Linked DNA regions of Homo sapiens: regions 2, 3 and 4 are each linked to region 1. Evidence: promoter capture Hi-C in 16 types of primary human blood cells and fetal thymus (Javierre and others, 2016). All regions are on one chromosome and are shown on one strand. Each heading gives the region's core, a stretch centred on a gene start or on the middle of the fragment in contact. The rest is flanking DNA. Distances are from core to core; before and after follow the strand shown. Region 1 holds the start of CACNA1C-AS4 (CACNA1C antisense RNA 4). Region 2 holds the start of CACNA1C-AS1 (CACNA1C antisense RNA 1). Region 3 overlaps CACNA1C (calcium voltage-gated channel subunit alpha1 C). Region 4 overlaps CACNA1C (calcium voltage-gated channel subunit alpha1 C).

Evidence for each region. The method cuts DNA at HindIII sites, captures the fragments that hold promoters and counts their contacts. A CHiCAGO score of 5 or more calls a contact.
Region 2: a contact is called between the fragment with the promoter of CACNA1C-AS1 here and the fragment with the promoter of CACNA1C-AS4 in region 1, in 2 of 17 cell types (M0 macrophages and M2 macrophages). The highest score is 6.2, in M0 macrophages.
Region 3: a fragment that was not itself captured here is called in contact with the fragment with the promoter of CACNA1C-AS4 in region 1 in 1 of 17 cell types (monocytes); the score reaches 6.5 in monocytes.
Region 4: a fragment that was not itself captured here is called in contact with the fragment with the promoter of CACNA1C-AS4 in region 1 in 3 of 17 cell types (megakaryocytes, monocytes and M2 macrophages); the score reaches 6.2 in megakaryocytes.

What each region holds. Positions count from the first base shown.
Region 1 is chr12:2,221,117-2,226,883 of GRCh38, reverse strand. It overlaps CACNA1C-AS4 (CACNA1C antisense RNA 4), which reads left to right and starts at 3,403. Exons shown (of 4, transcript NR_046578.1): 1 at 3,403-3,519; 2 at 4,464-4,684; 3 at 5,189-5,269. All of the region lies in intron 3 of CACNA1C (calcium voltage-gated channel subunit alpha1 C), which reads right to left. The HindIII fragment of the contact is 15,222 bases long and covers 1-5,767 here.
Region 2 is chr12:2,688,782-2,694,548 of GRCh38, reverse strand. It overlaps CACNA1C-AS1 (CACNA1C antisense RNA 1), which reads left to right and starts at 3,392. Exons shown (of 4, transcript NR_045725.1): 1 at 3,392-3,480; 2 at 3,570-3,742; 3 at 4,339-4,409. CACNA1C (calcium voltage-gated channel subunit alpha1 C) reads right to left here. Exons shown (of 47, transcript NM_000719.7): 47 at 1-3,649. The coding sequence ends at 3,350. RefSeq lists a silencer at 2,663-2,932. The HindIII fragment of the contact is 2,873 bases long and covers 1,614-4,486 here.
Region 3 is chr12:2,600,613-2,606,379 of GRCh38, reverse strand. CACNA1C (calcium voltage-gated channel subunit alpha1 C) reads right to left here. Exons shown (of 47, transcript NM_000719.7): 22 at 4,420-4,526; 23 at 1,212-1,299; 24 at 594-701. Among named protein-coding and RNA genes, the nearest start is that of CACNA1C-AS2, 69 kb to the left of the region's middle. The HindIII fragment of the contact is 537 bases long and covers 2,365-2,901 here.
Region 4 is chr12:2,581,940-2,587,706 of GRCh38, reverse strand. CACNA1C (calcium voltage-gated channel subunit alpha1 C) reads right to left here. Exons shown (of 47, transcript NM_000719.7): 15 at 4,765-4,885; 16 at 3,090-3,204; 17 at 2,211-2,331; 18 at 1,803-1,872. Among named protein-coding and RNA genes, the nearest start is that of CACNA1C-AS2, 87 kb to the left of the region's middle. The HindIII fragment of the contact is 1,958 bases long and covers 1,121-3,078 here.

The DNA.
Region 1 (5,767 bases), core at 2,154-4,653:
CGCATTCATTAGAAAAGAATTTGCACTGTGATGGGCTATTTTTCAAGAGCCCTTCTCCTGCCGAAAGAATACTTGAAACTCGTGCTGAAAACCAACAGGCAGAGAGCTCGAGAACTGGAGGGAGATGGGAGTCAAACTCGGTGTATTTTGTAGCTGTTTAAGACCCAAGTGCAGTGAAGGACAAGTTCCTGGCTTGCTAGCTTCCACTGTGAGTCTCCGTGGAGGAAACAATGACACTATGTAATTATTAAGAGCAGCAAGCCAGGTCTTAAGCATGCTGTGCACTATGGTGACACAAAATAGTAATTTAAAAACATGAGATATGGAGAGGAAAACTAGGTATCTAGATGGGGCTTGAAATCTTTGTATGCAAAATTTGTGATAGGTGGTATTTAAATACATTGGCTTTAGACTGCTGACCATCTTCCAGAGAGAAAGTCAGGGTATTACAGTGAATATCTAAATCTGGTCTCTGCCAGATTCACACTGGTTGTGTGACCTTGGCCAAGTTATTTAACCTCTGAGTCTTGGTTTCCTTTTATGTACAATGGGGATGATTAATCTTAGTCTCACCTACCTTGACAGCTAGTCTTTTTATGTCAAATGAGATCAAATCAGTGAAAGGATGCTGTAAACTATAAGAGAAACACAAATAATAGCTAATTTAATTAATTTCCTGACAGGTTTTACTACCCCTGTATGAAGAAAACTGTGTGTGTGTGTGTGTGTGTGTGTGTGTGTGTGTGTGTGTGTGTGTGCGCGTCCCCATATCCAAGCGGCATACCTTGGGAGTTCAGCTTTTCTAAGAAGTCACAGGAAATAATTTAGTTAGTAATCTCGGTCTCATCACCTTCCTCTCCTAGCATTGGGGAAGCAAATGGTACTCTTCTCCCTAGAGCTTTCCTTTCAAAGTGTGTAACTGATGGGGAAGTCAGATGTATACAGACTTGTAGAATTTTCTCAAGATGATTCAGACAGCTCAGTGATTACATTTGTATGGCGTCCTCACTCTCTGGGGCCTCATCCATGTGGTTTCCATCCAGCTTGGTTTGGATCTCATCCTCATGATGGTTCATAATTCAATGAAGGCCCATAATGCAATGACCACAATATTCACAAGAGGAATGATGGTTGCCTACCACTCTACAGCATCCTCTCTAAAGCATAGACCTTTCCCCTTAACAGGGTCTTAAGCCTTAATGTCTGAGTATTAGTTGACTTTGGAGGGAGAAGAGACAGTGACAGAAACCCAAATACCAGAATCCCAAGTAAAACTCTCCAGAACACTTTCCCTCCCCACTCCGCCCACTAGGATCTTCTTCTTGCTCAGGTTCCAGGGGGCAGTATCGCAATTTCATTTACATAAAACCAGGTTCTTGCATGACTTGGCTCCAGAAAGTTGAGAAATTTCTGATAATTTTATCTATGTATTTTTGATAACTATTTCTGTGTATTCTTGATAACTGATTTCTTTGCGTATTGGTGCTTGTTAATTATTTATGCTACTGTTATTTGTGTAGCTTAAAAGATAACATTTGAATTATTGCTCTCTTTAGTTGCCTAGTTTCTGCCTTTTTAAGAAGATATTAGAATATAACCTAGCAGACAAGGCAGGGATCTAGTCTTTATAATTCTCTTTGTGCAATGCTACATAAGTGCTGAATAAATGCTTTTTAATGATGCAGCAGCTGACAGCGTTCCACACATTATCTTCTTCATATTGAAGATATCCTGGCAAAGTGAGCAATGTCTCACAGATGGAAAAACAAAAAGCAGAGAGGTGAAGTGACTTGCATGAGATCAGAAAGCAAACCAGAAATGGAGCCTTGACAAGCCTTCACACTCTTAAGTTTAGAGTGCGAACGTTTATTCATCCATTCTGAAAAGCCACAACCTTAAATGTCTGAGTTCTGCGGTCCTGCAAAAATTTGGGTGTGACAAAAATCACTTTATAAATTGTGCTAGAAGAAAAACAGCCCTAACAGTTGGCTAAGGTACATAACCGTCTCTTTCAACCCAACATCAGAAAACCATTTTGCAAGCAAATACGACATTATCATCCCCTCCAGACAATGATGGCAATAGCACAGTAGTACTTACATGAGGCCTCCCACCTCTGGGACCCACGGTGCTTCATGATGTAATTATCTCCAACACTGACCTGTTTACTTATACGAAGAATGCTAAGTTGCCTTTTCTTCATCAGGAAATTGATGGCAAAGTAAGCTACTCCCCAAAATCCCAAAGTGAGCCAAAACAACAGCCTGACCTCCAAAGTCATCTTATAACACACAACTCTGGACCCACCACCCCATTCTTCCCTTACTACTAACATGCAATGCAGCTGACCACCCTGGCTATCACCACAAGGGGTGGAGCAGAACAGGGGCTGGGAATGTGGGAGCTCATGTACAAGGGAGTCTGGGAAGGTCATGCATTCATGACCTTAAATCATGTTTCAACCTTAAATCTAGAAGAATGCTGGATAACCAGGATCAGAGGCTCCGCCAGGGGGATTAGCAGTTCAAAAGAGAGCTCTAGAATGAAGATACAGATGTGTGACTCGTTTGCATATCGGAGACGGTGGAGAGGAGACCAGAAATCATACTTTCTCTTGTAGGCCTCTTGTGGCAAGTCAGGTTTATCAGAATAAAAACTTCATTTCCCAGCTCCCAGTTGTTGATATCATTAAGAAGTGGAATTACAAAGCAGAAACAAACCAGGGCACCTAGGGTCTACTGCAGGAACCAATCAGCAGGCAGGAGGTTCAGGGTGGGAACCAAGCCTCACCATCTCTACCTGTCAGAGTGTTTACAGGTCTTTAAGACCCATCTCAAATGATACATCCAACTTTTATTTTCCTGATTTCTCCAGAGGTATTCTCTCCCGTCTTTAAACTCCGATGGGATTTTGTGTGTGCACCTTTTATGAGATGCATCATAATCTGATTGGGGTTATGGATATCTATAAATAAACTAGAATATATTTGTGTATTATCATTTACTCAATAATTATTTATTGAGCTCTTGCTATGCACTTCAAACTCTTAAATAATAATACATATAAGTTTCTTGAGGGATGGAACCATGATTTATTCATTTTCTACGATGTATAACATTTTCATTCTAATGTACGTAGGGTACAATTGAATTCAAATCCAATAGCACTGGCAAAACAACTCTATAAGAGGAAGGATAATGGAGGACTTCAGAGCAGGAGTCTTAGAGTCAGAGAGATCCGATTCAAACTCTAGATTAATACCTCTGTAGCTTTATGGCCTTAAGCAAGCAGCTTAGCTTATCAGCAGGTGGGTCTGTAGGGTCATCCACCACAGGAAGGACGATGAATGTTACATCACAAGGAACCCACTATTGACACACTTAATCAGCAGCTATGGGGCCCTTATTCAAAATGGCCAGGTTAGGGTCCTCTTCTTAGGATCAGAAGGCACTACTGACCACCAGCATTCTTTCCAACCAGGCAGTTCCATCCAGGAACAGGTATCCTTGTTGGTAACTGGTATGTGCTATATTTTCTACACCTCAATGGAGCTGGGAGTCCCCAAGAAATAAACCTCTGCAGTTGGTTAGACCTGGCTGCTTCATCTCCCTTTACCCAAAAATCCCAGCTGAAAACAGGGGCTCAAACCCTTATGTTTGGACCCATTCACCACACAGCTTCTTTTTGGAGGTGTGACTCCCCAGTAAGACATTCCGATGCAGACAACATTGTCCAGTATGCTATGAGTCTTGCAGAGCCAAGTAGGATATCCCTGTCCTTGAACAATCAAGGATTTAAAAATTAAGTGCCTGCTGAGCTGTTCATCAGCATTTATGTGCGTGTCCATTCCAGTATGTAAAGATTGTGACATTTCAGATCCCAGTGTTTAGGGTCCATTAAAAAGCAAATGTCTCCTTTAAATGGAGAGGTAGTGCATTTCTCCTTTGTCCTTATTCCAATGGGCACCTCCCTCTGCTCAACTCCTTTGCAGGTTCATTTCCAATAGGTTTATGTAACAGAACAGCTGAACCATGTATCAAAGGGGCTCTGGGTGTGGCTGCTGAAGCAGCATTTCACTTACAGTTTTCCAGTGAATGAGAAAGCACTCCTCACTTGAGAGCCGCCTGCCACTCAGGACAACTCATTGTCCCTCATGTTCAGATTGCTCACTTAATTCAGGGCTTGGGATCAGACGTGAGCTGGCCATTTGGTTGCATGAGATGTACACCAGGCAAAGGTGTACTAAAGGGCACGACAGGGTACCATAAATGATCCATCCAAAAATCTATTGGTGCCCATAGTCACGTCCATGTCAAAGACTTGGGCCCTGAAATATTAATATTTACATTGTGGTTTTCCTCTTACAAAATATTTTCTAATTCCCTATCACTGAATCCTCACAACTCCGTGAAAGCATTATTCTTGTTCTTGTTATCACCATTCATTCCCACTGCAAATTGAAGCAGCCAAGAGTCTGTGCATTAGAGGTTAAGCGTCGTGTTCAAGATCACAAAGCCAGTGAATGGCTGAGCTGGGACTCCAACTCCAAGTCTTCTGACTCAAATCCAGTGACTTACTCAACACAAACTTTCTGAATACAAATGGTTGTCCTATGTATGGCAGTGTATTAAGAAGGGCCACCAGCCCACTGATTTATTCACTTTTCAGTTTATACTTGGACATGGTAAGACATCACAAGTTTTTTCAAATAACAGGGCTTTTTTTAAGTTTTTATTTCAAATGTTTATGTTAGAAAATTTAGAAGAATCATAAATAGAGAATGAAATAAAATAATTTGTAATTTTGTTCCCTGAATTGGCTTATCATTAACACTCTAATGTATACCTATTATACCTTCCAGGGTATAGTATATCCTGTCTACACTCATATGAGATGTAAATAGAGGTTATATATCTTATAAAATTTGGGATCATATTGTAGATAACTTTCTATGTTTGTTCATTTAGCAGTGCAGTTGAACATCTTTATGTGCCATTAACTGTCCTTCTAGGTTATCATTTGAATGGCTACATGGTGTTCCATCATATGGACGCATCCTAACTTAGTTACCCAGCCCTCTGGTGATTAATAGAGGAGAGAAATTATCCCAGGTTTAGCTCCATTACAAATAAGACTACAATGAACACACTTGTAAGTAATCCTTGTGTATTTCTGACTGTTTCTGTAGGATAAAATCCTATGGACTTGCTGAACCAAAAGAAATGAGCATTTTGAAGCCTTTGAACATTTTGTCAAATGACCCTCCAAGGTGAGTGGAACTTCTGCACTGCCATCAGCTGTATCTAAAAATGTCCAACTTCCCAACACTCTTGACAAGACTTTCACTGTTGATGTTTATTCTGAACAAACTGCCTGGCATCCTTTGAGGCCTCCTTGCCCAACTGCCCAGCAGGCCCTGGCAACTCTGCCTCCCAGGCACTTGCATTCATCCCACTGGCCAAATTCTGTCCATTCATCTCACCTCCACTGCTGGCACCTGGTCCCAGCCTCTATTCTCCTACCCAACTGGCCTCCCAACCAGTTTCTCATTCCCTCCCAACTCCCTTTTCTAATCCACAGGCAGAATGATGGTATTCTAAAAATAAAAAAGACACGTCACCCTCCCTACCAGTCATGATCTAGCACTCCCTCTCCCCACACCGCCAACCCTTTGACCAGTTCACCTGCACCCGCCTGGTCATTCACTGTGTGCCAGCCTTGCTCTTCTGTTTCTGACACATGCCAAGGTTGTCCTGCCTCTGGGCCT
Region 2 (5,767 bases), core at 2,143-4,642, 470 kb before region 1:
ATTAAGAAGAAGGAAAGGGGTTATAACTAGTACCTTCTGAATCAAAGCTGGGAAAAATTCTCCAAGGTCTGGAAATGAAAGAGGCAGGGCTGGTCGGAGGACAAGAATTAAGTTGACCAAACTGCAGACCTTAAACTGTTGTTTCTTCAAGTCCCTTGGGCCCTTAGCCCCTGACTGTTTTCTCCTGACACTTGGGGGCTGTCAGGAGGGGTATGGAAGATGTGACAATTATGTTTTACAAGGTCATGGGGAAAATTCCATTTTAGGTGGAGAGTAGACATCACTTGGAAGATTGTGCTGTGGTTCATTGATGTCACTACTTGTGCCAGTCTGTTCTGATGACAGGCATCATACGCCAGTCTTATTCTAGTGGATCAGAAGGTCAAGCTAGGATAGTCCTCCTGCCCTAGACAGGGAACGCCTGTGTGTACCTCCTGGTAGAAATCTTGGGAACTTTTCAAAGGATGATACCTAAACTCAATTTCTAGAGGACCTTGATGGCAGTGAAAAGGAATCAAGAAAGTTTGGATGACTTGGGTGTGGATATCCATAAAGAAACTCTGTTTCTAGACTGTGTTAACCGGGGAGTATTGAGTACATTTCTCCACTTTGTCATGAATCAGTCCAGCAAGCTGTCATAGAGGAATGGACTGTCCCTTATTGTAATTTCTAGCTTACTTATATATGTGCCAAGAGGGGCTCAGGGAACACTAGGACTGGAAGAGATTTAATGGGTCAATTCTGGGTGAATGGTTGGGTCCTGTTTTCCCCAAAGCAGTCCCTTTTCAGCCACCACTGTTGACATACATTTGAAGGACACAGCACCAAAAGAGTGATGTTCTAGGGAGATATAAGTGAGCATTAGAGATGCCCCCACAAAAATCTGTTCCCACCCCCACTGTGAGCTCCGGATGCCTCTTCCCTTGTCCTGGCCCCCTCCCCGGCAGCCCAAACATTAGGGCAAGCCTGAAGGAAAGGCTGCTCCAGAGTGAGGAAGGGATGGAGAAAGGAGCACGCAGAGTTGACTTTCAGATGGATCAGGGTTTCACCAGTTCCTTTCTCGAGCCCCTGCTGTCCTTGTTGGGTAGAGCAACAAGAATCCGGAAGTGAGGATGCCCCTCCCTCCAAGCAGCCTGACTTTAATTTTATCCTCCCGGTTAGTGTACACTTTCCTAAGGAAGCCAAAGAGAAAATTCCGTGTGGTGGAAGGGAAGGGAAAGCCAGCTACCTCTTCCATGGGGGATGCGGATGACGGCCCAGTGACTGAGGGCTCATCAGAACGCCTCCCTGCACCTCACAGTGAAGGGCTGTTCTTGGAGAAGTACCAAATCAGATGACCAGAGCAGAGTGGACAGAGTGAAGACTGGAATAAAATAGGTCCTGGTCTCTCACAGCAAGAGGCGGTACAAACATACCCAGCAAACGATTTTGGAAAAATTGAGGGAAATGTAAGCAAACACAAGATATGCAAAACAGTAATGTCCAAACCTGTTTGTGGAGAGCAGAATAATGACTACACTGGTGATACCTTTGCTCATTGTGCAAACTAAAGAAAACTTGTTCCCTTTCCCCCAACCACATATAGAAAAGCACTTGAGTTCAAAGGTAAAGCTTGTCACACTCCAAATACAAAATGATTTACTTTACATGCAGCAAAATATACAAGAAGTGAATCCGAAAACCAACTTAATTCAATTCATTATATTCGCTTGGCACAATTGCAATTCAGTTTTAAAAAAATATTTGAAAAATACTGAAACTGACCTGAATTCAAGTATAACGGTTTCTTCAACAGAAACATTATCAATGCAATAAAACATTACACGGAATATATTGAAGCAAAATGCCTTCTTGTGTTTTTCCCTTAAATTTCTGTCTTTTTTTAAAATACAGTTTTAATGCCAACACAACTCACAATTGTATTTTTAAATGAATATTATTGCATTGTTTTTGCATATCTTGTGGGACAGAAAATGCAAAGAGTTACTGATTCCCGTTTCAGAAGCAGAGACAGTGGTTTGTTTTTGCTTTCAAACGGCCCCAGATTCAGATCTTCCCACAGCTAAACCAGAAAGGGGGGACTGCGTAGTCACTGGTGTGCACGGGCACATGGTGTGGGTGCATATACACGGGCAGGACATATGCACACAGACAACCCACCACACACACACGCGTCGCACACACTCGGAGACTCTCTCGCGCATGCTCCTCTCTCCCAAACCCACCTGTACACCCAGCATAAAAAGGAACCCAACTCTATCACCCACATGTGCAAGACCACATCAAGTGCATTGCCAGTTACCTTTCCATTAGATAACCGAACCAAACCAGAACAAAAATAGGTTACTACCTAAGGAAATGATAACAAATTATTGGGCATACACAATGGTTGGTAAAACTCTCCTGCAGCGGCTTCTATTGAACCTCCGTGGAAAAAGGAAACCACAACCGTTTAAATAATACAAGAAAACCAAACCCGATGTACATTGGCAAAAGTGAAAACAGAAAGGTGAGGGGGCTACAGGACTTTGTAAACACTCTTCTTCCTCCCCTCCCGCTGGGAAAGCAAAATAAAACATTTAAAAAAAACCAAAACCGAAAAGAAACTGCAACATGCTGTCAAGAAAAGTGTCAAACCACAAAACAAAAGAGCGCTCAGCGGAAGCTCAGCACCACCTGGTTGGGCGGAGCCGGCGGCGCAGCTCCTCCCTCGCGCTGCCTGCGGGCCGGCGGCTGGCCGGGAGCTCGGCGTGGCCCGTGCCGGTCGGGGGATCCCGTCGCAGGTGGGCAGGGACGGAGTGAGCCGCACCACTGCCGGCCCGACGCCCATCCCCAGAGCTCCGCGCCCCTGGAGGCCTCCTCCTCCCTCTCCGGGCCGGGTTGGGGTCCTCCTGGAAGTCCTGCCCCGCTCCCTTCTCCAAATCCGCAGGGCCCTGGCTCTAGGGAGACAGCGAGGCTCGTACAGAATATGTGCAAATGGTTTCTACAAGCAGAGTCGAAAGACACCCGTTTGCTGTAGGGTCCTTTTGGTGAGGGCGCGCGGGAAGCCGGGGTGCTCTCCCCGCGGAGGCGCGGCCGGGCCCGGGGCCTGCGAGCTGGGAGAGGGCAGGCGCCTTCCTCGCGCCCCGGGACCCTCGCCGCCTCCTCTCCCCGCCTCTGCAGACGCAGCCGGGCGCCTTCCTCCCGGAGGGCGGCTCGCGCACCCAGGCTCCGCGTCTGGTCCCAACAGAAATGAATGAAGACGCTGTTCCGGTTAACTCCAGGTCACGAGAACAGTGAGGCACTTCTGAAACGAACCCATTAGGAACATTGAAACAAATAAAAAAAAGCCCGCATCTGGCAGCGCCCACTACAGGCTGCTGACGTAGACCCTGCTGTCCTGGAGCTCCTCCTCACTCGGTCGACCCCGCGCGCGCACACAGCCCGCGTCCTCTTCGCCCCCGGCTCGGTCCTGCCCCGCGTCCCTGCAGTTCACAAAGGGTAAGAGGGCGCCATTGGGGCTCTGTGGGGCGCCCCCGCTGAGGATGTTGTCGGCCGCGCTCTCCATCTCCTCTATGGTCATGTCGCAGGCGTCGGCCAGCTCCTGGGTGGTGACCTCGATGAACTTGGGATCTTGAGCAAACTGCCCCAGTCCTTCTGAAATCAAGACCTGAAGGAGCGGGGTGGGAGCCATGAAGAACCAAAGGAACATTACTCCTGGAGCCCAGCTCTTCCCTTGAGGGCTAGAGCGAGGGGGTATCTGGTAGGTCACTTGGGGAAGTGTGCGTGTGTGCACGTGTACGTGTGTGTGTTGGGAGGGGCACCCATGGGGAACAAGTGGAGATGGAGCATCTGCCAGAATTAGGGATGTGCAGGCCAGAGAAGTTTTGGCTGGGGTGGTCAAACACTGTCATCAAATATATGAAGACTTGCTTATGGCCCAGCACGGTGGCTCACACCTGTCACCCAGCACTTTGGGAAGCCCAGGCAGAAGGACTGCTTGAGCCCAGGAGTTCGAGACCAGGCCCAGGCAACACAGGGAAACTTCGTCTCTACAAAAAATTTAAGAATAATTAGCTGGGTGTGGTGATGCACACCTGTGATCTTAGCAAGGCCAGAGACTGAGGTGGGAGGATCATTTGACCCCAGCAGCGCCAGGCTGCACTGAGCTGTGATTGTACCACTACACTCCAGCCTGGGTGACAGAGCGAGACCCTGTCTCAAAAAACAACCAAAACAAAAACCAGAGAAGGTTTGGCTCTCAGAGGGGCCGGGGGGTTGCCCTGATGCTGTATCAGCAGATCCCAGCCTGCCTCTCTCCTTTCTGACACCCACTGAACCTTTATACTATTCTTTCAGAGAAACCATTCTCCCTGGTGAAACTGCTGAGACAGGCCCACTGCCCATTGCCTGCTGCTGCCTTTCCAGGGGTGAGGTATCTGTGCAAACACGGCGCATGCCCCTGCCTTGCTTCTGCTGGGAAGGGCCAGCAGGTGACCCTTAAGCTTCTCTGTCCTCCCTACCGGCTGCTTAGTGCCTGGCTATGGGAAAATCGGCTCCTGAGCCAGCGGGTCGGGGGAAGCTGAGTGCAGCCTGGCACTCGCTCCTTTCAGGCATCTGTTTGTCTTGCTCCTTGCCCACGCCACTCATTCTCTCCTTGCCCTGCTTAGTTTTTCTTTGGCACTCCTGACCTTCCTGATGTGTTATATATGTATGTGTTTATTATCTGTCTCTCCTCACCATGATGTGAGCTCATGAGAGCAGAAGCTCTGTTTCTCAGCTGTGTCCCTGTACCTAGAACAGGGCCTGCACATGGTAGGCGCTCAGGGAAGGTCTGTGAAATGAATGCAGGATGATCGAGGCCACAGGAATACCAGACTTTGAGAGGTAAACCTTGGAAGCCACCTGGTTTAACGCCCCACCTCCTGCACCACAGCCTGACGCCCGGATGAGCACAGTCTCTGCTTGGCTATGTCTGATGATGGGGGGCTCACTACCTTTCAGGCAAGCCCCTCTCATCTTGGAAGAGCTCATTTGGGAAGGTCTTCCCCATGTGAGCTGAAATCTGTCCGCTGGTGGGCTGAGCCTGCCACCCTTTCCCCATCCCACCCGTTGCAGGTGTGAGAGGTGTATCGCACCCTCCAAAGTCACCTCCTCTCCAGGTTTTCTTCCCGAATTCCCTGAAACGGTTCTCCTAGGAAATGGTTTCTAGGAACCTTGCCATCCTGGTCATCCTCTGTTGGGTTTGTTCCAGTGTGTCAAAGGTCCCTAATAATGTGGTGCCGGGATTGCACTAGATGCTCTGACCAGGCAGAGCACAGTGGGACTGAAAGCTCGCTTGTTCTAGGCTAGTGGCTCTCAACCTTGCTACACGTTAAAATCATCGAAGAGCTTTAACAATCATCAGTTAATCTGTCCCGGGTTTCCAAAGCTCCCCAGGTGATGCTCACGGGCAGTCAGGCCTGAGCACCTTGGATCTTGCCTGTCTGTGTATAAAGGCAGCCAGGCTCACATTTGCATGTCGAGCAGCTGCAGTATAAGGGATAAGTTGCTCAGTGGTTTCTGCCGCCCTCTGCAGTGGGCCCAGCCTCAAGAGAGCCCATAGCATCTTGTGCAGTCATGGCTTTCCGCACACGAGCCCTCCTGCAGCCCTGAGAGGGAGGGTCTTTCGGGCTCAGATATTGACTGCAATGAATTTGGCAAGAGCCAGGTGCTCCCTTCTCAGCCCCGCATGCCAAGTCCCCTTGTTGCCCGTGGCCTCTCCCCCCTGCCCATCTGCGAGTCACCT
Region 3 (5,767 bases), core at 1,384-3,883, 380 kb before region 1:
GTACTCTCCGGGGAGGTCTCGCCAGGGAGGGAGAAGTGGAGCTGGGCTCAGAGGGATGAATTAGATGGGCGTTTACACAGTGGAGGGGAGCGGGGGCGAATGCTCTAGGTGGGAGAATAGCAGAACTAAAAGGGTGAGGGCAAAAAAGACCAGAATCCAAGGAGGACACGAGGGGTGCTGCAGGAAGCAGCAGGAGCTGACTTTGACAGGTGCAGGGCTCTGAAAGCTGGGTGGTGCAGTGGGGACGTGATGCTGTTGATAATAGGTCACCGCTGCAGGCTTTAAGCAACTGACTGACACAGAGGTTCCACAGGATGAAAGTCCCTCTCTCTCTCTTTCTAGAAGGAAGGGCAGTGACCTCAAGGGCAGGTGAAGTGGAGAGGGTGAGGGGCCTCTGGCCTGGTGGCCCGATGCCTCCTTCTAGCGCCTCCCTACCCTGGTCTGAAGGTTGAGTCGGGCTGCAGGTGGAGGTTATATCCAAGCCAAGTCTGGCTCAGGACACTGTCTCGTTTGTACTATATCTGCCAGTTCCCTTCCCCAGGAATGCTGATGGGAGGGGAGGTAGGAGGACCACAACGGAGCCCAGACTTTACCTTGAAGAGCTGGACCCCGATGCAGGCAAACATGAACTGCAGCAGGGTGGTGACAATCACGATGTTCCCGATGGTCCGGATGGCGACAAACACACACTGAACCACATGCTGCAGTGGGAAGGGACGGGGAGAGGGACGTGGCTTCAGGAGATGCCAGGAGCCTTTCCAGGAGGTAGCAGGGGCAGCCCGTTTGCCACAACGGGGAGTAATTGGGCTGAGAGGGGCAAAGCCACGCTCCCAAAGTCACATGGGAAGTGATGGACCCTAATGGGATGCAAAGGCCCCCACTGGACTCTCCGTGACTACAAGGACAAAAGTCCTGCCAACCTCCCATCTTACAGTGGAAGGAATATAGGGATGGTGGCACCACAGGGGCACAGGGTTTGTGTGGGATCTCCCTTTGGCACATTCTGCTTAGGGCAGACACTTGGGATGGCTGCCTCTGTTACTATTCTGTTCATTACGGAACCGGGACATGCAGTGGGACCAGTGTCCGGGACCCCACATGGCAGCCACTTGGTCTGACCATCATCTCCTTCCAACCCACCCCTCACCTCTGTGGAGCTCCCACTCCCCAATGGGCTGGCTGGAGACTCCCTACCCAAGCCCTCAACTCACCTTTAGCCCCTTGGCCCTGTTGATGGCCCTCAGGGGCCTGAGTACTCGCAGGACTCGCAAGATCTTCACGACATTGATTGCACTGGACCTGGGAGAGGGAAACAGGCAGGGTAGTAAGCTCCTCCTGTTTCTGGGGGGAGCAAAAATAATGTGGTAAGGGAATGTCCTGACAGGTGAATCCGAGGCAAACCTGAGAAAACATAAAGCCCATCTTGGGGATGTTCGCATTCTGGGACCACTCTCTACTCCTGTCTCCCATCCCGTGAGAGCCTGGAGCTTGCCTGTAACCCTGGGGCTTTCCTGTGGGTGACTAAATAATATGCAAGGTGGCTCATGGCAGGTCATTAGCAATGTACTGTGCTACTCACAGGGGCATTCACAGTGTCACAGAAAGAAATTCAGAGCAAGGCCATGGGAATTCAGACCCCAGTGCAGGCACTTGCTAGCCAAGGCACTGAGGACAAATTTCCTAAATTTTCTGAGCTCTAGTTTCTTTATCTGTAAAATGGGTCTGTAATCAGCTCAGAAGGTCTTTGCAAGGGTTAAATAAGAATTCTATGTAAATCACCCAGCCATGTGCTTGAGAAACTGCCTGAATGGTACCTGCTCATGAGGCCTGCTGAAGACGTTACTACACTTAAAGGAATGCCGTACTAACGGTGGGATCTCGGGCCTTGTGGCTGGAGGTGATGTCATGGGGAGGAGATTTCTTAGTGTTTATCTCCAAACACATATTGCCCCTGACACCTAAACATAAAACCCACCCAGAGCACACTCAGGACTCCAAGGAAGGATGGGCTTCGCTGTTGGGGCTCAGGAAACAACACCCCGAAACGACGGCCTTAGAAGCAGTCTCAGAAGCAAAAGTTTTTCTCTGACCTTCTCTTGCCCTCCTGTCTCAGTCCCCTTCTCCTCTCAGGCTAGCCATAGACACTAGAATCCCTCTTCCCCAAGATGGGTCACAGAAACCAGAACCCAGAACCCCGTTTCCTCAAAGCCAGCCACACAACCTAAAATATTATTCAAAATTTCCCTCTCCTTTTCTGTATAAAAACTGGCCATAAAAAATGACCAGATCCACCATGTGGGAGTGTAGATCCTCAGACTCCTGTTGCAGACGGGATCCTGCCCCGACCCAGAAGGAGGGAAAGCTTCACAGAGAGCACAAGAAGAACCTAGAGACAGGCCTTGCTGGGTTCCCCACTCGGTCCATTCACGTTAGATCCTACGCTTCTTGTCCAATCACATTTCTACATGGCTGTCCATACTTTTTTGAACCTAAGCAGAAAAATGGTCAGTTTCCCCTGTATCTTTGGGTCTGCATTCTATAGGCTCTGTGTATACACGTTAAATAAATGTGAATGCTTTGTCTCCAATTAACCTTTCTTTTGTCAGTTGATTTTTCAGTGACCCTTCAGAAGGCCAGTCCCTTTGGCTCCTACGTGGCACTACAGGTTCCATACACCTGGGATGCTGAGGCCAAGCCAGAGCTTCTCGGAGTCTCGGGCTACGGCTTTTCCCTAGTGCAATGGAGACAGCAGGAGACAGGTCCCTAAGCAAGATGCCTGGATGGTTTTTGGAGCTGTCCATCCTACCCAGGTGGGGCTCATTAACCATACCACCTTGGTGAGCAGCTATGGAGCACATCCTAACCCTCACGGGCTAACTACCTGAGATAGCCTCTCAAGCTTTTGGAGAGCCTCATACTTGTCTTGGGACCTAAACAATGAATGACAGGCCAGCAAGCGCTGATTTCATGCTTTGTGTGGTCAGGATGATGTGCTCAAGGGGCTGGTGGAAAGATCCGATTTCTCTGGTGCATGACTCTTTTATTCCAAGAGATGCAAAGGCCATTCCTATCTATCACTGTGTCTCTCCTACAGTCTCTCTGGGAGGGAGTCAGTTTGCACCGAATCACAATGGAAGGGATTTAAAGGTCAGATGGGAAAAACACAGGCTAAAGAGGAGGAATTCCTCATTCAAGGTTAAATAGTGACTGAGTGGCCATGCTGGGATTCAAATCTGGACTTGTAGGCTCCCAGGCAGAAAATATGGGGTAATATAACTGATGATCACAGAAAAGGGTCTCTCCCAAGGTCCTGGTCCCTGCATGATCTCAGCCAACCATGAAAACACTCTTGGGAGGAGAGACCCAGGAACGCTGGGACTTAGGCCTTTCTCTACCACAGGTGTGACCTTGAGCAAGTGTCATGATGTCCTGAACTCCAAATTTCCCATCTATACAATCATGATAACACTTGCCCCGTCTCCCCCATCGTTTTGTGTGTGTGAGGACCACAGAAGAATGTGTATGTGGAAGTGCTTTGAAAGTTAAAGTGTAGGATTCACACTATCAGCTGTTAGAACTTGGTAGAAACTGGTAATCAGATCCTCCACACCTGAACGAGGACTGCAAGCTTGGCTGTACAGGGGAGTCACCTGGAAAGCTCTTAGAACTCACACCCAGACTGTACCCCAGACCAGTGAAATGAAAAACTCACACACACACACACACACACACACACACACACACACACAAGACACAAATATACACAGTCACACACATACATGCACTCACACATACATATGCACATACATACACATATACATTCACGTCCATAGACACATATGCAGACACAAACACAAACACATACATACACACACATACACACAGCCACAAACACACATCCACATATACACACACCCCACACATCCACACACGTGCACACATACACCCCACACTTACACAGACATATATATACACACATTCACACATACACTCATACATGAGGTGCTTTGGCTGGAGAGAGAGGGGAGAGAAAGGGAGAAGGAGGGTCCAGGTCAGGGGAGGTCACGGCAGTGGCAGACTGTGGGTTGCTGAAGGTCAGCCTAGGGCACTGGGGCCGTGGTGGAGGAGGCAGGAAGGTCCTGGAGACAACCGTTTCTTAATAGCTGAGCCTGGCCCTGCCTGTCATGGCAAAACCCAGATAATTAAACATATTCTCACCTGATCAACGTGCCCCAAGTATCAGACCACTGAGGACACAGAACCAAGAACCCAAAGCCACCATGCACAGCTTTGGAGGCCCCACCCCACTCTCATCACACTGCGGTGGCCCTGCAGGCAGGCCCTCCAGGGTCTGGTTGTCCTCTCTGGCACCCCTTGCTAGCTGCATGGCCCATCGTGGGCTGAGGGGCTCCCACTCACTGGATGCCAAAGGAGATGAGGGACACGCTGACCACCAGCAGGTCCAGGATGTTGAAGTAGTTCCGGCAGAAAGAACCCTTGTGCAAGAAAGCCCCATAAGCAGTCATCTGCAGGGAGGGACAAAGGAACACCAGTGTGAGTGGCCCTAGCCCTAGCCCAGAGACCCCTCACACCACCCCTTCCTCCCACAGCATCCCTTGGGCAAGTCCCAAGCACCATCCATGGGGAACAGGAAGGACAAAGACGGCGCTATGGTGCCAAGAAAAGAGTTCTGCTACCATGCACACAACCACCCAAGACTCTCGCAGCCCAGGACTGCTGGGTGGCTCCTTGCACCTGCCAGGCCAAGCCAGGCTCTTTAGTCCTCCATTCAAAGCCCTTTCAAGTGGGCCCCACCATCCCACTCTAATTTCGCACTGTTCCACATCCCAAGTCCATGGCTTTGGGCCTGCAGGGTCCTTTCCTGATGCTGTCGGGTTGGGAGCACACATCCCGACTGCCTCTCCAAATGCTTGAGTCCTTAGGCCAGCTGAGAGCACCAGACATCTGCCGTGAGTGGGTGGGTTGGGGGGCGGGGCATGCCCAGCAGGGTGACCAGCCATCCTGGTTTGCCCAGATTTGCTTTATCATCAGAAATCCTGCATCCCAGAAAACTCCTCAGTCTTAGGCAAACTAGGCCAGCTGGTCACCCTGGTGCCTGGTGAGAAGTTCCAGTGGTGACCCTGGCAATTAGCATACCTCCCCTTCCTGGCCTCAAAGGGTGCTTATTATTGATGCCAAATATTCTAAACTCAATTCTACTGTCCTGCTTCTAGACTACATCTGGAGTTCTTTAAGGGCAAAAGTTGTGTGATCAGAGGGGCTATGAGGCTCAGTGGCTAAGAGCACAGGCTCTGAGGCCAGACGGCCTGGGCTGGAATCCCAGACCTGTGGTATTTTATTTTTGTGGCCTGGAGCAAGAAACTCAAATTCTCTTAGTGCCTCTGTTTCCTCATTGGAAAAATGAGGATAAGGTCTACCCTACAGGGTTGTAAGCATCAAGTGGGTACCTCTATGTAAAATACTTAGGATGCCACCCTGCACACGGTGAGCCCCATAAAAGGGTGAGCTGTCACTACAGCCTGGATTTGAATTCTGGATGCTTCCTGGATGAGAAAAGTTCTGTTTTCTCATCAAAAGGTGAGGAAACTATCCCCTGGCTTTGTGAAAGCCCTTTGGAAACTTTTAAAAAGAGAACACACAAGATGACGATGACTGCTACAGGACTTGGCCATTATTACCACCCTCTGAGCCTGGTGTAAAGCTGCGCACTGCAGGTGCTCAACAAATCACCTTTACAGCCTTTCTC
Region 4 (5,767 bases), core at 850-3,349, 360 kb before region 1:
GCGTAAGCATCCCCCAGTCCTCAGAGCCACTGGGTAGCTACGTGAGAGGCATTTCTAGGATGGCCGACCTGGTGACAAAATCCTCATTAGCCCTTTTTTTTTAAAATTAACATTCTTCTCTTTGATTTCATTAGAGCAACAAAGAAAAGAAAAGCCAAGAGTATAGATTAATAGAATTTGAGATTTTTGTTGAAGATGCAAGAGGTGTATCTGCCGTACAGGCCTGGCTGCAGCTGGGTGCCTGTGTGAAAAGACCCTCATGCTAGATCTGCCCTGTTGTGTGTGCAGGGAGGCCCATCCTGGAGGCTGGCCCCATGGGAGGGCTCTTCTCAGGGCTCTAAGGAATTTGTTTTATTACTGTCTTTCATTTTAAACCTTAAAGATTTACACAAGAGTACAGTCTCACATACTAAACCTCATATATATAACCAGCTTCAACAACTTTGGACATTTTGCTAATCTTGTTCCATTTATCTTCTCTGTCCCCATTTTTTTTTTGTTGGAATATTTTAAAAGCAAAGCAACTCGTAAACATTTAGACTCTGGCCATAAACACTGCAGCAGTTTAAAAACAGAACTACAAAATATTATACCAACAAGATTAACAAAACTACTTTCAATCATTTAGTTCCCAGTCCATATTCAATTTCCCCCATTTCCCTCTAAAACGTCATTTTAAAGTGTATTTGTTGCTTCAGGATCAAGGCAAGATCCTCCCATTGCATTTGTTCAATAATTCTAGTACGTCGTTGAAATTCCCTAACGGTTTCACCCTAGAAGGGGTTTTAAGAACTTCAAAGCCTTAATGCCGGGCATATGAAAACGCCCTTCCTGTTCTTTCTATCCAAGCTCCAGGAAACCACATCCTATTCCCTTGCAGGAGGAGGGGAGTGAGGATGGTGTGACCACAGGGAGTCTGGTTCCCAAGGATGCCTGTGAGTGTTCTAAGCAGAGAACCAGCGGAGGGAAAGCAAAAAGGGAAACCGAGCTTTGCTCATAAATGTAGGAGGTTCTCAGCCACCTAACTTGGTGAACAACCCAAATATAGCCTAACCTACAGGAACAAGGAAATGTCAGTAAAATCAACAGTCCCTTGATAGCATGTTATTGACTTCAAGCTTGAAACTGGCGATAATATCTGCAATCCTAGGTCAGAGGAAGGCAAGCCCAGGCCTTGCACAGGGTATGGGATTTCAGGGAGCAGGGAAGTGAAGCCTGGAGGGAGGACCTCTGATCTCTGACATTAAAGCTCTTGAGAAGCAGACTGCCTGCCAATTTAGGTATCAGATAGAAGCATAAAAAGATGGAGTCAGTAAGCGCGCCTTTTATAATGAGACCTGAAATCATTGCCTAAAGCAACAAGTGGGACATCTGTGGTGGCAGCTGTCCCTGCACTCGGCACTGCCTCCTGAGTAGGGGCAAGGCAGACTTGGGATTGACTATTAATATTAAGTGAGCATAATGTTGCAACATATGCCATACTAATACATTATATAAATTAATGATGATTTTACAACATGTAATGTAACAAAAATTTAAATGTACACTGAATCCAACTTGGAAAGGACACAAAAGCACTGCTCAAATGTGATCTCATTATGAGGAAACCAGAAACAAACCTGCCTCCCAGATGCTGACTGATGATGCTTAAATATAGAGATAGAAGACACTCAGCAGTGGAAGGTACTTACAGAGGGACACTGGAACCATGGTCCCTAATATATGGCCACTCCCACGTGGCTTTAGAATTTAGATCTCTGCCCCCAATCTCCCAATCCCAGGTTAGGCAGTGGGACTGGTACCTGTAGTTTCTGGGTTGGGGTAGGGGCTCTTATCCTCATTTTCATTGGGCTGGAGGTCATCCATGTTGATCTAGACAGTCACAGGGGAGAAGGGGGAAGAATAGTTAGATACGTCCCCAAGTTAAGAGGCTTGCAGTAGCCTTGAAGTTGCATTTTAGTCAGTGACTTAGCTCAAAAATAGGTACTTGTCACTTTGCATATCTCCTTCAAGACATCAGCAGATGGCTGGGATCCAGCCAATCTGCCTTATCTTCCCCCTCCCAGCTCTCCTGTTCATCCCCACTGGCTTTCTTTCCACTGGGTGTCTTTCTTTCTCTCCTCTTCTCCACAGGGTTCTGGCCTGGGAAGGCTGTGGCCCTCCCTCCCCAGCACCGGCCTCACAGCTCCAGGAAGGAGACAGCTCCTCACCTTGGTGGCGGGTGGAGACTCTCCGTCAGCCGTGATGGATTTCAGCTCAATCTTCTCCTCCTTGGATTCCCCCACTGCCGGCTTCTCCACCAACTCTTGTTTCTTCTCTGGGCTGGCAGTCCTGGCCAGTCAGCAGCAGAAAAAAATAAATGGCTGTTTACTGGAGTGATAGGGAACAGTGTAGGAGGGAACCGCCCTGTGGCCTGTTGGGGCCAGAGGGGACAGATCCCCTGGGTCTGAGTCCATCTTCCTTTCTCCAGGACGCTTCTCGTGTGCAGCTCAGTCACAAGTGCTATGGGGCTGAGCTACACCTGCTCTGCCTGACACGCAATTGGCCTCTTGCAGCTCCAGAGATGCCTGGGTCGCCAAAGCAGAAAAGGATGGTGGATCTCATCTAGGATTGGCTCCTGGAGGAGCTCTGCTCAGTGCCCGGCAGCTGTGTGGCCTGGAACTGTCCCGTCTAGATAATGATAGGATACAACATAGGGCCCCGTCTTGCCTTCCTAACACTGGAGATGAATTATAAAGTAGTGAGGAGGACTCCCTCTGTAAGCTGGAGCTGCGTTTCCCAACTGAGTGGTTACCTTTCTCTCTCCCCACCCTACACTCCTGCCACCTATCACAGCTTCTCAAAAGATAATCCCAGCAGGTGGAGAATATGACACCATTGCAGAGATTATTATAATTCATGATGGTCCCTACCAGAGTGATGCTTAGGAATTAGGAGAGAGGCCCAACTTAGGAAGCCCCAAACCCAGAGTCCTCCTAGGAGGGAGAGCCAACAGAGGCTAGCAGTCAAGCCTCTCTCTGCCACCAGTGGGAAGACATTCCACAATGGGAGCCCTGGAGCCCCAGGCCTGGGCAAGCTTAGAGGGTTACCTGGCCAGCTTCTTTCTCTCCTTCTCCTCTTCCTCCTCCTTTTGGGCAGATGTGAGGCTCTCAGCATCAGCCAGGTTGTCCACAGCAATGGCCAAGAACACATTCAGTAGGATATCTGTTTGTGTCCATTCTTAAAGAAAATGACCCTTGGTTTGGGGTTTTGGTGGGCACAGGGGCACGGGGGATGTGGGGCGTGCAGGGTAGAGCTCCTCAGCAGAGAGAGCTTGAGGGGGAAGCAATTTGAGGGAGTCAGACCCCAACAGTGTTCCTCCCCTCCCCTTCCTCCCCATCACCCTCCTAGCTACCTGGAGCTATCAAGAGGGATGAGAACAGGCTAGCCTGCACACTGGAGCAGGCGGGAGGGAGGCAGCAAGCCCTGCCTTGCACTTTAATTGCTGGGTTTCATGATTGCTTTCCCTGCTGAGATGACTGGCTGTAATTGACATTATAAACAGCATTGTCTCTAGCAGGATGCAGAACGCTCTTAAGAGCGGTTTATTATAACTGGGCGCTGAGGGGGTGGCTTGGTATCTCTGCCAACTCTTAATGTGAGCCTGCACCCACGAAGACCCTTGGAGGGTCCATCTGGAGCCAGCCAAGGCTTGGGAGTTCCCAGTGGAGACAGTTCTTTGCCCTTTCTCCTCCCCACTCCACCAACAGAAACACTGTGGGTCAGAGAACTGCAGAATCAACGAAAGCATAGCTGGAAGGGGGCTTTAAGTCTGTGAAGTCTGACCCCCGGCCCCAGGCACCCAGACATTCATATCATTTCACACACAGGGAAGCCGCAGCAACCCAGGCTGGGGAAGAGGGGCTTTGTCCAGGGTGGCTTCTGAATGTGGCAGAGGCCTTGCATGCATGATCCCATGAAAACTCCCAACGACCCTTTATGTAGTAGGTTCTATGATTCCATTGCCACATTTTACAGACACTGAGGTAGAGGACCTTCAATCTGCAAGAGGTCATCCAGCTGGGAAAAGAGGAAACCTTGTCTGCAGGCTTCCATGACTGTGTTTTCTGCACTGCCTTAGCTGGGACTTGGCCCAGAGCTGTTCCTATGTTACCCCTGGCTCTGGACGTGACTCTCTCGGGGTTATGAGCTGGGGAAGAGAAGCAGCACCCGTGGCTTGTGCCCTGGAAACCTGCCCCAGCCGGGATCAGGAAGGAGCTTTTGGGGCTGTTTGAAGTCTGTGCAGCTCTGCCCGTGACTAAAGTCCTGGAGAGCAGCATCAGAGAGAGGGCTGCTGACCAAAAAGCAGGAGGAGAGCTGAAGGTCACTTGAAGGACAACGGCTCATCCTCCCTCCCGGAGCGTCCCGCCTCTGAGCAGACGCCGCGGCCCCAGGGCAGCCGGCCCGCTCCCGCGCGTCCCTATCGCAGGCGGTGTGAGTGGCCGCACACGCCGCAACGCCAGGGGGCGCCGCTCACCCAGATTACGGCGACAGCCCGCCCGGAGCGCGGCGCCGCTGCGGGCCCGGAGGGTTCAGGAAGGTGAACCTCACCCATGCCAAAGCTGCAGGTTTCCACCCAGACCCACCTCCGCCGCCATGGGGTTCTAGGCTGGGTGGTGTGAGCCCGAGCAGGACCGCCCGGACCTGAGGGGCGTGCCCGTTTGGCACTGTGCTGCAGGCTGGGGGCTGGGGGCCGCAGGGGTGGGGGGCAGCAGCAAAGGATACAGTTTCCACAGATGAAGAGGATGATGAAGTAAATACAGACTAACATCCCTGGAAAAGAGGGGCCGCCATAAGCCATGATCCCATCATACATCACCGAATTCCAGTCCTCCCCGGTCAGGATCTGAATGACACATTCCCACCAATAAGGGACACAGCGTTAGACCAACAGCAAACCCAAAACCACCCTGCCCTGCCCCACTACGTCAACAAAATTGTCCAAAATTTCCCTTTCACTTCTTTCCCTCCTCCTGGCCCCCAATTCTCCTCCCCAGGGGCTCTGAGCTATTGAACTGTCCTTAGACAAAATGCCTGGCTATTGGCATAATATTATTTGAAGGGTGACTAAAAGGGCTTTTTGGCCCAAAGATCTCTGACTTTCCCCACACATGCTTGAGCTGACCGTCAGCCATTCCTGGGGGTAAGGCGTCAGGACCCTTTTGCAGTTGTGTGTTTGCTGAGACAGCCACAGGCTACACCAGCTTTCCCCAAACATTCGTCACTGGGGCATCATCTTCAAGACTTTGACAACATCTACATGTGATTCATTTTTACCTCTCAATCGATCTGCTTTTAAACTTAAATAGATGCCACTTTGAGTTTGCCCTAAGCCAAAATATCTATGAAATCACAAATTTGATGGGCTAGTAATATTTTTTTCAAGAGACAAGCATGGTAGGAAAGCCAGGGTTTCGTCACCCTCCCCTCCCCCAGTAAGAGCAGTCTGCTTTTCTTTATGTTTTGGGCTTTCATGGAGAATTTAAGTAAAGGATTCCATGGATAAGAACGATTTTTTTTTTTTTTATTTGAGACGGAGTCTTGCTCCGTCACCTAGGCTAGAGTGTGCAGTGGTGCAATCTTGGCTCACTGCAACCTCTGCCTCCTGGGTTCAAGAGATTCTCCTGAGAAGGCATTTTTAAACCACTTATATTGTTTCCCCTAATGGTCCACCCACTAGTGGAATTCCATGGCAGATGGGGACAGGGAAACTACAGAAAAAACTCAA